3 separate regions of the Homo sapiens genome follow, and all the other regions are linked to region 1. The links are contacts of gene promoters, found by promoter capture Hi-C in human tissues and cell types (Jung and others, 2019). All regions are on one chromosome and are shown on one strand. Each heading gives the region's core, a stretch centred on a gene start or on the middle of the fragment in contact. The rest is flanking DNA. Distances are from core to core; before and after follow the strand shown. Region 1 holds the start of IL10RB (interleukin 10 receptor subunit beta). Region 2 overlaps TMEM50B (transmembrane protein 50B). Region 3 overlaps IFNGR2 (interferon gamma receptor 2).

Region 1 (2,543 bases), core at 25-2,524:
GGGAGGCTGAGGGAGGAAAATCGCTTGAACCCGGGAGGCGGAGGTGGCAGTGAGGCAAGATCAAGCCACTGCACTCCAGCCTGGGCCACAGCAACAGAGCAAAACCCTGTCTCAAAAAAAAACAAAAAAACAAAAAAACAAACAAACAAAAAAAAAAACGGAAGAAGAAAGAAAGAAAAGAAAATTTGAAACCTACATGCAAGTAGAAAAGTAGAAGACTATAATAAACCACCACCCATCACCCAACTGGTACCAAGAGAGATATAAATGTGCGAGTCATGGGCCTATAGCCCGTGTTTAATGCCAGGGTTTGGCTGAAATCCCCCAAAGGAACAGTGCCAGGGAAGGAGAGAAAAGGCCTTGGGCATCACAATTAGCTACATAGAAACCTGACAGAGCAGGAGGGTCCCAAGCAGAGACAGCCTGACAGGGCGGGAAACCGGAGGGGTATCCCGGAAGGCCAGGGAAGAGTTCATGAGAAAGGAAGGAGGTGACCATGGTGTTATTGGAACCTAGGCAGTCAATTTAGAGGACAGAAAAGGTTTCAATGGATTTAGGTTTAGAAGCCATGGAGCTGGGGCGCTGGGGGACAGAATCCAGATTTCAGGGTGCTCGGGCCTGAACCGGAAGGAGGGGAGGTGCAGCGGGTGATGGGAGGCACATCTGTAGGGAGGGCTGGCACTGAGGGGGCAGACTTGGGGTCAGGGAGGGCTGTCAGGGCACTCGGGGACTGGTGGGGGCCTCCACTTGAACTGATAGTCTCCAGAAGGGTCAGATGACAGCCACGGTGGGATCTTGGGTCTTTTGGGGAAGCTACTTTATTTAGACGCCCGCCAGCAGAGAGCTGCAGGAGGACAGGGAATCAAAAGACGCCGGGAGTCTCCCCCTGAGTTTAGGGCCCAGACGGTCTGTAATCCGGGCGCGGATGGGGCTTTCTCCTGTTACAGAATCGACGGCAGCAGCAGCCTAGTTGCGTCTCAGCAGCCGGCCGTGGCGTTTGCATCTTCTCTCCCGAGGCCCCGAAGGCTCTTAAGTCACTTGCAGGGCGCCCAGGGATGGGATCAGGGGCGGCATCTCGCGGGGCCTCCCGGTTCCCAAGCGCGCCCCCTCCCCGCGGACCCCTCACCTGACACCAGCAGGCAGCCACCCAGCCAGCTCCCAAGGCTCCACGCCATGGACGGACGCTGGGGGTTCCGCGGCTTCCTCCAAGCACACGACCCCCGCCCGCGCCCGGGAGAGCTTGTCCGCGGCGGCTTCCGGGAACCAGCGGAGATGGGCGGGGCGGGGTGGGGAGGGGCCGGGCGACCGGGCTCCCACCCCGCTGCAGGCCCCGCCCACCAGCCCGGGTCCACCCGCGAGGCGCGGGGCACAGGCTTGGCAGATGCACACGAGGAAGAGGAAGGGATCCTCGCAAGCTTTGAAAGGCGCCGTCAAGTCAAATAAATAAATGCCCTACAACACCAACCCAGGACTGAGATCTGCATGCTGGAATGACGGTGGTGGTGGTGGCTTTCAGTATTCCCCAGGTTTTGTCCGGAGCACCGGCACGCCCTCTCTTGAAGTCCGCTCTCCGCACAGGTGAGTTAAAAGCACTTCAGCAGCAAATCCAGTTTGAGGGTCTTCTTTACCCTTCTCCCCAGGGATAAACAACACAAAACCAAGTCATCTTTACGCAAATAACTAGTTTCTTTCAGAGACTACTAAGAAAGCGTTAATTTCCTCTTTTTAACTTGATTAGTGGTTAGACGGGAAGATCCGGAGCTGTCCAGTGTCTTGGGTAATGCACGGCATCGCCTGATGTCTGACGCTAGAACACCACGTAAAGTCAAGCAGAGGGAAGTGAATGCGCCCTAGGCCCCTGCAGGCCACCAAGAAGAGCTAGAGGGAGTTGGTGCAATCCTAGAGATGCCGGCAGGTGCACCAATCTGTGGCACACGTACGCTCTCCAATGGAAGACAACTCAAGACCACACCAAGTTTGTATTAAAAAAGTACTGTTGTGTTACTTTTTACCAACCTCCAATCATTATACAAAATGTTAAAAAATACACAAACACACACACACACTCACAGCCATAGAGGTTATCGCAAAAGATCAACCCAGAATCTTTCAGAATATGACAGATGCACTGAGAAGGCAGATAAATTGATTCAATATACAAAAGGCCTCTTTCCTATGGAATTTCATTAGATTAAATAAGGTGTTCCCTCCTCACAGCCTCATCCTTATGAGCAATCATATAAATAATCTATTTAAAGTCCTTGAACTATAACTTGTATAATTTTTAGTTTTCCCCCTTTGAAGGGGCCTAAGAGAAAGGTTTGAGAAACCAGCTCTTGAGGGGGGCAGGGGTGAGGGGTAAGAGGTCCTGTGCCTTTCATTCATCCTGGGAGCTTCTCAGGATTGCAGCATTTCCACCTGAGTGTTCATTCTTGTACATTTTCTCATCTTTCTCCTGGGTTCCTAGGATCTTGGAGATTACCTAGTCCAATCCTTTTACTTCAGAAACAAAAAACCTGAGGCTCAGAAAGGCTAAGTCAAAT
Region 2 (2,543 bases), core at 13-2,512, 200 kb before region 1:
AACTGGGTTTCACCATGTTGGCCAGGCTGTTCTCAAACTCCTGACCTCAGGTGATGCACCCGCCTTGGCCTCCCAAAGTGCTGGGATTACAGGCATGAACCACCATGCCCAGCCTTCTACCTGATGCTTTAAATGCTGATGTAGATTTTGTAACCTCACTTCTACTGGAATCCATGGAGAATTTGCGAGAGGGTATAATGACAAATGACAGATGAGCCTAAGTTTAAAGTGCACAATATGTGTGTGTATGCGCATGCGATCGCGCTTACTTTTCATCATATCCTGTATGTCAGCCTCAGCAGTAATGTCAGGAATGAGGGAAGGTAAAGAAAAAATATATATTAGCAAGTGAAGATGTTGTATGTAGAGCATACAATAATGTACTCCATCATTTTTCTTTCAAGAATATTCCACGGACATTGCTGTGAATTATGTTACTATTATCTTTTTTTGAGACGAGGTCTTGCTCTGTCTCCCAGGCTAGAGTGCAGTGGCATGATCATGACGCAGAAAAGCCTTGAACTCCTGGGCTCAAGCAATCCTCCCCTCTCAGCCTCCAGAGTAGCTGGGATTACCGGTGTAAGCCACTGTGCCTGGCCACTATTATCTGTTTTTTATAGGAAGTTTCACTGTAACTTATCCAAAGTTTTTTAGCTTAAAAGTGGAACCTGTATTTGTCTTTGGTCTGTCTGGTTCCCAAGCCCGTCGTTTTTACCCTAAGTGATTATTATATTTTATTCTATGATATTCCCTATTCTATTAAAATTAACAGTACAGTTTATATTTTTATATTGTGCATATAGTGCAATTTCTGTTTAGTGTTTCAAAAATTAAGGACAAACTGTCTTATAGTCATGCCCAGGTATTGCTACTCTTAAGCTTTTGTACTGCTTAAGTGGTTTATCTGTAAACTATCTCTATTTAGTTCCCGGAGGAATTAATAGGAAAGTATCAAAATAATAAATATACTATAAATGAAACAGCTAAATAATAAAACTATAAAAAAGAACAGGAACTAGGTAGAAAAATGATCATTGTACTTAGAACCTGGGACAAGATGGATGCTTTTAATTGTTCATTAACCTTAACTCAGAGCTTCCTTGTAGCCAAAGCAAACAAGAGAAAATGTTACAGTTTTATTTTTTTGCTAAACAAAAGCATACTTCTTTTTCTTTTTTTTCTCTTTTTGTTAATATGCCCTCAGACATACTTACTTTACAAGAGAAATTTTTTTCTTGTTTAATTCTATTAGAAAGTTTAATGTATATAGCCATAAATAAAGGACATGATGGAAAATAATTGTAAGGATTTTTTTTTTTTTGAAACAGTTTTGCTTTGTTGCGCAGGCTAGAGTGTAGTGGCATGATCTTGGCTCACTGCAACCTCTGCCTCTCAGGTTCAAGCAATTCTCTTGCCTCAGCCTCTTGAATAGCTGGGACTACAGGCACCCGCCACCAAGCCCGACTGATTTTTTTTTCTTTTAGTAGAGATAGGGTTTTACCATGTTGCCCAGGCTGGTCTCGAACTCCTGAGCTCAGGCAATTAGCCCACCTTGGCCTCCCAAATTTCTAGGATTACAGGTGTGAGCTACCATGCCCCGCCTTTAAGGATTTTTAATAGTTCCTTTTATTCACGTTAGATAAAAGCTATGATTGAATATAATTTAGAGATTGTATTTCTCCAAAGAACTAAACATTACTGTTTATTTCTGGAGATCTGCTTAGTATTGTAATAAAATTTAGATAATATAGAGACCTATTTCTCTCAGATATCAGCTGTTCTAACCATTATGAACTTTGATCAGTGCTTCTTCCTTATCTGGTGTCTAAAATGAATCTTTTCCCTGGTAACAAAATATTTGCAACTGAGGCAAATTTAGTTTTCTGTTATGGAAATTGGCTAGGATTTTATTTTTACTTCAGTGGAGCTTTCTTCCCCTTCCAGAGGTTGATGGGGCTGTCAGTATACCTGTGAACAGGATCTGGTGCAAGTATTAACCTGCTTTCCTAAAAATATGTTGAATCTACTCAAGTGTCCAGATGATTTACATTATCGAGATCTAGAATTTTGTTCAATACAGGGTTGAAGAGATACTTCTGATCTTGAAGTTTTCATGAATATGTGGTACAGATTGGCTGCCTCAGCAATAAAAAAGCCTGAATATACTCCTAAAGAATGGCCGTTATTTGTACCATATTGAATAATGGTGTGATTATAGAAGCTTACCATTGATTAAAAAGGGACATATTAGTCCTTCTTCATTTGAAGTCTCTCATTCCTATGTGGTGATGGCTATCCAGAATACATGTGCTACTTTTAATAGAGCAATTATTTTGGTAATATATACAACAGTGTAATTTTTTAATTAGGGCATTCGTTTCTCTAGTCAGTAAAAAGGTAACTTTCTTTTTTTCCTTTTCCATGTATGGTTTAACTTCTTTTAGTGTTTTTTTTTTAAATCATCATTCATTTAACTTACAGCAGATTTATATAAATATATGACTATCTTTGATATGCATAATATATACTAGGCTAACAGGGCT
Region 3 (2,543 bases), core at 23-2,522, 160 kb before region 1:
CGGGTGGCTGAAGTGGGTGGACTGCTTGAGCCGGGGAGGTAGAGGTTGCAGTGAGCCAAGATGGTACCACAGTACTCTAGCCTGGGCGACAGTGAGACTGTCTCAAAAAAAGAACAATAATTAAAAAAAAAAAAAAAATGAAGGAGAAGTGCAGATACAAAGCGTGTGGCAGAAAAAGATGGTGGTCAAGAGCAGGGCTCTGAAGCTAGGCATCTCTGCTCTGCTCTGCTCTGCCAGTGATTCGCTGCTGACCTGAGGCAAGCCACTTAACGACTTGGATTCTCTCTCTGCAAACGGATTAGTATAAAGATGAAATGGGCCGGGCACGGTGGCTCATGCCTGTAATCCCAGCACTTTGGGTGGCCAAGGTGGGCAGATCACCTGAGGTCAGGAGTCTGAGACCAGCCTGACCAACGTGGTAAAAACCCTGTCTCTACTAAAAATACAAAAACTAGCTGGGCATCAAGAGCGAAACTCCAGCTCAAAAAAAAAAAAAAAAAAAAGATGAAATGAGATGAAGTATCTAAAATTCTGGCCCAGAGCCAAACACAAAGGAAGCTCTCAATAAATGTAAGCTCTTATTATCAAAAACCATCATAATGTTGAATTTAGGAAATCATGAAGTTCCCATAGATAACAGAACCTCCTTAAATGCAGCTAGGATAATTTAGGCACTGGAGATGCTTCAAGACCATGATGCTTTTTCCTATACTCCCCGAGGCTGACCAGGCCGCTCTGATGTCATGCACCTCTGTCAACGTGAGCACCTGCCACAGCCCCTTGTGGATTGCATTTCTGACCAATCTAAGCACCTGCAGTTCTCCACGTATGCCACGCCTTCTCATACCTGCTGGTACTGCTCTCTGGAAAGCTCTTTCTCCCTCTGTTTCCCCCCGATTTCGCATGTGCCCTTTTCACAAACTGTTCAAACATTTATACAGTTAAGCCTTGCAGGCTGTAGTTGTGGATTCCTCATGGAGAACCAGGCCCACTAAAACCTCCTCCAAACTACAGAGCGTGGCAAAGGCATCGTAAGCAGGGCACCGGCAAAGTCTCAACCCCACACAAGGGACACAGAGTGACATCAAAGGATGGCTGGCCCTTCAGATCAGCCTGGCGGAGGGAGGTCTCAGCAAACCGAGTGGAAAAACAGGTCTTGAAGAGGACAATGAAAACAGGCTCAGGGCTCAGCCTCTATGGGGACACGGGGACATGGAGACACCCTGTTCTTGCCCATGTTAAAGGTTTCTTTCTTTTGCTAAGCCAGAAACTGCAAAGAAAAGAAAATCCAAACAAAAAAGAAAGATGCTCTTGCCTGTTGGATTCCTCCTTTTTCCCAGTAATGGACATAATAACAAAAAAAGGCCGTGGAGGTATCAGCGATGTCAAAGGGAGAGGAGAACCTGATGATGAGGGAGCCTTCTCCTGGGGTCACCTCAATGTTTTCTGGAGGCCCGACAGTCACTGAAAAAGAATTACAAAGAGAAAACCACACACATACACATATGTATTATAGATATAATACAATGTATTATATAATGCTATATATATATGTATATATATATATATAGTGGGTGTAGATATATACACACACGTTTTTATCTATCTCTTTATTTATTATTATTTTTTCGAGACAGTTTTGCTCTGTCGCCCAGGCTAGAGTGCAGTTGTGCGATCTCGGCTCACTGCAACCTCCACCTCCCGGGCTCAAGCAATTCTCTTGCATCAGCCTCTCAAGTAGCTGGGATTACAACAGGCGTGTGCCACCATGCCTGGCTAATTTTTATATTTTTAGAAGAAACAGGGTATCATCATGTTGGCCAGGCTGTTCTCGAACTCCTGACCTCGTGATCCGCCCACCTCAGCCTCCCAAAGTGCTGAGATTACAGGTGTGAGCCACCGCGCCTGGCCTATTTATTTATTTATTCATTTTTGAGATGGAATCTCGCACATATCACCCAGGCTGGAGTGCAGTGGTGCAATCTCAACTCACTGCAACCTCCGCCTTCCAGGTTCAAGCGATTCTCCTGCCTCAGCCTCTCATGTAGCTGGGATTACAGGCACACGCCACCATACCCGGCTAATTTTTGTATTTTTAGTAGAGACAGGGTTTCACTATGTTGGCCAGGCTGGTTTCAAACTCCTGACCTCAGGTGATCCGCCTGCCTTGGCCTCCCAAAGTGCTGGGATTACAGGCGTGAGCACCATGCCCATACTATATTTAAACACAATAACTGAGAAGTGTTGCCATGTAAGTCTATTTGTTCAGGCTTTTCATATAATTCACAGGTCAGGCTAGGACTGTGACTCATGATGTGCTATCAATGAGGGGTTATCAAGCATTTATTAAGTAAGCATGCACATTGTATAATTCACCAGAGAAACTCAGATCAAAGTACAGTTTGGGTCCTCGAAGTTCTAAGAGACCAATGTCTGCACATTTTACACAAGGAGACAATCCTGTCACTGTGTGTTCACAACAGCAGGGCTGGATTCTCTCCCCTGGGCACTCCAGGTTGGTGAGGGTTAGGTGTATGATCTGG

The links. Contacts are between HindIII fragments. The study calls those that stand out against the background at their distance.
Region 2: a fragment that was not itself captured here is called in contact with the fragment with the promoter of IL10RB in region 1 in 1 of the 25 tissues and cell types used here (dorsolateral prefrontal cortex).
Region 3: a contact is called between a fragment that was not itself captured here and the fragment with the promoter of IL10RB in region 1, in 1 of the 25 tissues and cell types used here (spleen).

Annotation. Positions count from the first base shown.
Region 1 is chr21:33,265,098-33,267,640 of GRCh38, reverse strand. IL10RB (interleukin 10 receptor subunit beta) reads right to left here and starts at 1,274. Exons shown (of 7, transcript NM_000628.5): 1 at 1,127-1,274. The coding sequence starts at 1,175. All of the region lies in intron 7 of IFNAR2-IL10RB (IFNAR2-IL10RB readthrough), which reads right to left. It overlaps IFNAR2 (interferon alpha and beta receptor subunit 2), which reads right to left. Exons shown (of 9, transcript NM_001289125.3): 9 at 1,977-2,543. IL10RB-DT (IL10RB divergent transcript) reads left to right here and starts at 1,381. Exons shown (of 2, transcript NR_038974.1): 1 at 1,381-1,578; 2 at 1,739-2,009. RefSeq lists a silencer at 1,019-1,428 and enhancers at 1,599-1,668, 1,699-1,758. The HindIII fragment of the contact is 10,877 bases long and covers 1-2,543 here.
Region 2 is chr21:33,460,581-33,463,123 of GRCh38, reverse strand. All of the region lies in intron 4 of TMEM50B (transmembrane protein 50B), which reads left to right. Among named protein-coding and RNA genes, the nearest start is that of TMEM50B, 18 kb to the left of the region's middle. The HindIII fragment of the contact is 4,870 bases long and covers 1-2,543 here.
Region 3 is chr21:33,425,805-33,428,347 of GRCh38, reverse strand. IFNGR2 (interferon gamma receptor 2) reads right to left here. Exons shown (of 7, transcript NM_005534.4): 4 at 1,316-1,464. Among named protein-coding and RNA genes, the nearest start is that of IFNGR2, 24 kb to the right of the region's middle. The HindIII fragment of the contact is 6,726 bases long and covers 1-2,543 here.